Regions from separate parts of the Homo sapiens genome. Here region 2 is linked to region 1. Evidence: promoter capture Hi-C in 16 types of primary human blood cells and fetal thymus (Javierre and others, 2016). All regions are on one chromosome and are shown on one strand. The core of a region is centred on a gene start or on the middle of the fragment in contact, and the rest is flanking DNA. Distances in the headings are between cores, read along the strand shown.

Region 1 (2,700 bases), core at 118-2,617:
TTGGGGAACCCTTGACTCCCCCAGAGAAACCTCTGTGAGAAAGAACTTTGGAGAGCGCGGTCTCCTGGGCTGACCCAGCCATACCAGATCATTACCATGATTAACCTCAATAATAAGATCTTCCCCTCACAAAACACAGCTCCCGGTGTGCCTTTTTTTCTCTTCCAGGAGCTGTTCTTTCTCCTTTCCAGCCCAAAGGGGTCCAGTTTGCTCAGCCCCAAGCTCTCCCTTTAATAACCCCGTCTGCCTCGCACACCCCTTCCAAGCCTCGGCCCATAGATCAGAGTCTTTCCGGGCATGCTTTGAATCCTGGGTTGGAGGAATCAAGGCCGAGAGAGATTTCTTAGTGCCTGAAACTGGGGTGTCACCTCCCTCCATCCCCTCAAACCCAAAGGCAGCATCTTGATGCCATTTGGGTTCGCAAACTTGCCTTGGCAAAATCGTGGCACCAGTGGGATCTGGGGAGCGGCCTTCAACTGCAACTGCGCGTCTCAACCCCACAAAAACGGGAAAGTCGGAGAAGGGGCCATCGGAGGCTTCAGGGTCTGGCCTGGGAGAGGGCACCAGAGTCTGCTCTTCCTAGCCAAGCGGGAATCAATAGCGATGTGTTATAAACTTCCCCGAAGCCCCTCCGCGCGCTCTGGTCCTGGCGGGCGAGCCACGTCCCTAAGCCGCTCGCCAGCCTCGGCCTGCACCTTGGCCGCCTCCTCCGAACCCGGGACCCCCAGCCTTGGGCTTCGTCCCCTCCCTGTTTTAATTACGTGATTGATTTCCGCTTTGGCCGCCTCGGGACGCCTCTGCCTCCGACTGTTTAAATCTTTCGGCTCCTTTTGTGTATTTCCGAGTCCTCCCGGCGGGCTGTAATTTACAGGCGGCCCCTCGGCGGCCGGCGCGCACCTCGCGGCCTGGGTCCGGGGCGGGCTTCGGCCTCGCCCTACATTCCAACGAAATGGTCCTGCCGCGGTGCTCGGGAGACCGGCTCTGCAGCGGCCCCGCGGCGCGGGACTCTCAGGCTGTGGTCCTGCCCATTCGCTTTCTGAATTATTTTGTGCTCCATTATTCTCTGATAGGAAAACGTTCCCTGTGTGGGTTATCCCTTCAGGCCTGGCCTCAAAGCTGGGCTCTCCGCGGTCCTGTGCTTTTCTCCTCCCCCGAATGAGGTGTGTGTTGAAAGGTCTGGATTAAGCCCGGAGGAAGCGCGACGCCTGGCTCCAGGCTTGCGGGGAGCTAGAGCCCCTTCGCCTCAAACACCTGGGCCCTGCGCTGGCGGGCGAGAAGCACCAGAAGAGATGCGAATTCGGCCACAACTTTACGCCAGTCAGCGCGAGAGGGACCACAGGGCTGGCGGTCCCCACTGCGGCCCCTACCCCGCAGTAGGCGGTGGATCTGACTTTCGCTCCACAGCCCAGAGGCCTCCTCGCCCTGGCAGCCCCAGCGGGCACCTGGCAGCAGCCTGGGGTGGCTGCGCGCACCTCCGCCCGGGAACACGCTGTTCAGCCCCTCCACCCAAGGGATTGAAGGTGAGGCGAAGGAAGGGAAAGAGGGGAGAAATTGATGAGAAGGGTAGACTTAGGGTGGGGAGAGAAAGGGGAAGACAAGAAATGAAGAAAAGGAGCCCCTTCTCCCACTGTGGCTGACTTCTTTCCCTTTCTCTTTTTCCTCCCCAAACTGCTGGTTTTCCACTTATTCTCTCATTTATTTACAACAAATAAACATTGCTCTGCTTATTCTACCACGTTGTGTTCATTCTTTGATCTTTTCTAACGAGGCAGCAATGAGTTACCATTAACTGTGTATATATATATATATATTTCCCTCAAGGAGAGAAGGGGATTGGGAATGTCTTTCTGACTGGGAAGAAGTTCAGTGACACTTGAGTTGGCCACAACCTTCTCCCTGTCCCCTGACCTACGACACCCCAATACTTGTCCCCCAGGCCCCCTCCCCCACAGCAATGTTGCCGGGTAAATAAGAGTCCGCCTGCCTGGCTATTAGGATTCTGGAGACGTTGGCATCTGTAGCAATCATTAGTCAAAGCCGCGGAAGCCAAAGGAGCCGAGGAGTTGGACAGAAAAAATCTTGGAAATGATATACAGGAGACGCGGAGGCATCAATCCCAGCCGATAAGAGCGGGGCTGCTGGGCGCAAGGCGGCCGCTTAATTGGGCCCTGGGCACCGAGAACAACTGGGGAGGAGGAACCTATGGGTTGTGCAGTAACCCTGGCATCATTTGGGCACCCTATAAAAACAGTTGGGGACTTGATCCCTTTTTCCCCCACATTTCAAAGGCCCAGTGGGGGGTGTAGGGAGATATACAAGCCCCTGTCAGCCTCTTGCCCTGGGGATCCAACAGGAACTGGGCTGGAGGACTCTCCCCTTTCTTCTCTCCCCCTTCTTTTTAGTGGCTACCTTGAGAGGTAGGGAGCTTCGGCTTGGATCTCAGGTCACAGAGGCAGCCTGGAGGCAGTCTATGACCCCTAGAGTAGGTTTTCGAGGGACAGATAACTTAGTGGGACTAGATTTTGGAGATGGCCTTAGAAATAGAGACAGAATTACTTGCTTTAATAAGCCAAACATCCAAAATATATTTGTTCCCTACCCCCACTCACCTAATATCTTTTTATATCATAGACACAGAGATAGAGAGGGAGACAGAGAGATGCAGTAAGTTTAAGTCCTTCTAGAAGGGAGATCTATGCC
Region 2 (2,700 bases), core at 101-2,600, 74 kb after region 1:
GAACATTTTCAAAACTAGTTTTAAGAAGGATCATAGCGGTCCTGGCTTGCCTCTCCGGTCTCAGGTTCTGCTCCATTGCTCCTCTCCCCCACCTCTCCCCCTCTCTGGATCTCTCCCTGTCTTTCCCTCGCCCTCCCCTTTCTCCCCCTCCACCCCTCCCCTCCTCCCCACTCCTCGGCAGCCCGGCTCCCCATACTTCCTTAAATGCTCCTCTAAGTTCACGATCAAAGTTAATATCGCCCGCAATGGTTGCGCTTTTAAAAATTTCACAGACCGAGGGAGATAACGGGGGAGGGGGGTTCACCCGGCTTTTCCAAAGAGCCCTTTTCCCTCCCTCCCCACCCCTTCTCCATCGTAAAAAGTCGAGTCGTTGGGAGAGAGGGCTTTGTAGGTTATAATAAAATCCTTTGAATGCTTATAAAACTCCACATAAAATCGGACTGACCCAAAACACGAGGCCGTCCCCGCTCCCCTTGCCTCCCCCCTTCTCTCGCCCTCCCTCTCTCGCTCCCTCCCTCGCTGCCCGCCCGTTCCCCGGCCGCTGCTACCTACTGGGGGCGGCTCCTTTGGCCGGCTCCTTGGCCACGGAGTGGGCTGAACCGGACGAGCTGGGATTTGTGTTCTCCTCCTCAGCCTCCGCCTCGGCACCCGCCTCAGCCCGGGACGCCAGTCCCGAGGCCGGGGGTGCCTCGGGCTCCCCCTTGGCCTCGCCCTTGCCGGAGCAGGGGGGCTCGGCGGGCGGGTCGCCGCCACCGCAGTAGGCGTTGTCGAAGAAACGGTCGAAGGCTTGAGGCAGGACGCTGTTCTTGTTGACTGAGGAGTAGAAGCCGGCGGGGGTTGCGTGCGGGGCGCTGGGGTGGTGGTGGCCGCCGTAGGAGCCTTCGTTTTTCATGAGGATCTCGGTGACGGTGGAAGGAGGCAGGCACTCCCGGTGCATAAGCTCGTCGGCCGCCGCATAGCAGGAGGAGTAGCTGTTCCGATGGTGCCACTTGCCGGATGGCTCCAGGCCGTAGGAGACCTCCCGGACCGGGGGCACTTGGGCCGAGTAGGGATAGGAGATCTGACGAGAGGGGGCCTGGGGCAGGAAGGAGGAGACCGTGGAGAACTCGGGCATGTAGTAAGTGCAACTGGGCAGATAGAGGTTGGAGGCGCAGCTCCCTCGCTCGCCGAAATCTGCGCCCCTCTCCTTGCGCGACGGAGAGCAGAAGTTGCCCAGGTTGACCGAGTTAAACATCGTTCTCCTCTCCTGCCGGCTCCGGATGGAGGTTTTGGACCCGGTCTAGCGAGGGGGGAAAATTTGGGAAGGCGAGATGACGCGTTATCCGTCTTAGTCTCTCTCTCTCTGAGCACGTGATCCAAAGTAGATATTGTCATATATCAGTTCGGAGCACTTCGCAGACGTAGGAGGGGTTCTCTCTTAGGTAAGATCGGGGACGTTCAGGCGATTGGTTTGCAAACACCGCAGAAACATTATGAAAATCAATTGCAGATTTGTATTCGTTTTTCTCTCGTCACTCCCCTTCTCTCCATACCACAGCACGAGCAAAGGAGGAGAGAGAGGGTTGGGGTGGGGTGGGCGGTGGGATGGGCGAGGGTGGTGGCTGGGAAGGGGTAATTGTATTTTTTTCTAGCTGCTGCTCTTTTTTCCCCCAGGATTGGGGGAAGGAGGAGGGCTCTCATGTATGGGGGTCTTGCCTCCTCTCTGTGAGCAGCACCAGGAGGGTGGGAGTGAGGACTTCTTTCCCCACTGCCTGATTTCCCCAGAGAAGTGAATCCTTTCCCTTAAATCTCAGGGACTCTTACCCTTCCAACCCGCAGAGACACCGCCTGTTCACAAGAGTTTGAAGAAGTCCACTCTTTTCCTGGCCAGAGCTGGGTGTCAAGACTACCTTTCTGGAGTCCTTAGAGAGACTCCCGGAAGAGTATCTGAAGTTTCCCAAAGGTGAGGCAGCCCAGCTGCAAGCCAGTGTCCCAACTTTGTCTGGCTTGCTGTGCTGCCCCTGGCTAGGGAGTCAGATTAGTCATAAACGAGTGGTGAGCAGTGCGCCAGCCGCCCAGCCGGTGCCTGGCGAAGTCTGGGAAAAACCTTCTCTAATGTTGTGTTAAATATTTAGTATGAGAGAGTGGCCCTGGGTGAATATTTCATGCCTGCCTTTATTGTCAATCAATGTGAAGAAAGCTACATCCACTGTGGATTTTCAAATCCCAAACCCCAAAGAAAAGGATTGGAATGAGAGCCATGTATCTTCTATGTCAGGGCCCTTTGGCTTAGTGGCTCAGCCTCAGCTAGTGCGCTGAAAAGAAGCCTAGTGTAGGGGTCCAGGAAGAATATGGTGGGGGGGACTAGGTTTGGGGTTCTTATCCTTGGATGATTTTGAGGACTGTAAGGTGGGTGGTGGGGCCAGGTATGGGTCTCCAGAAGAGACTAACCAGACAGTGGAAAGGAGCGGTGGATGCTGTGGCATCAGGGGAGGCCCAGCGGCCACTCCCTAGTCAAAGCCCCCAGCCTCTGTCCCTGGGGCTGTGACCAGATCTTAGTGCCTCCTTCCTATTTCTCAGCCCTGTCCTGCCCTCCTACAAGTCTGTCAGCCTCCTGGATAGCTGTAGCCCAAGAAGTAGGCTCAGTCATTCTGCATCCCCAACCCCTTGCCTTCCATCCCTCTGAGCACCACAGGACACATGTGGGCATCTGAAAATCAC

Evidence for each region. Contacts are between HindIII fragments. The CHiCAGO score rates a contact against its expected background, and 5 or more counts as called.
Region 2: the fragment with the promoter of HOXC11 here is called in contact with a fragment that was not itself captured in region 1 in 1 of 17 cell types (total B cells); the score reaches 5.9 in total B cells.

Annotation. Positions count from the first base shown.
Region 1 is chr12:54,045,648-54,048,347 of GRCh38, reverse strand. It overlaps a transcript of HOXC4 not described here. Among named protein-coding and RNA genes, the nearest start is that of HOXC4, 6.8 kb to the left of the region's middle. RefSeq lists an enhancer at 1,008-1,907. The HindIII fragment of the contact is 4,043 bases long and covers 1-2,700 here.
Region 2 is chr12:53,971,776-53,974,475 of GRCh38, reverse strand. It overlaps HOXC11 (homeobox C11), which reads right to left and starts at 1,350. Exons shown (of 2, transcript NM_014212.4): 1 at 553-1,350. The coding sequence starts at 1,234. The region is part of intron 1 of HOTAIR (HOX transcript antisense RNA); the gene reads left to right. RefSeq lists an enhancer at 1-124. The HindIII fragment of the contact is 12,279 bases long and covers 1-2,700 here.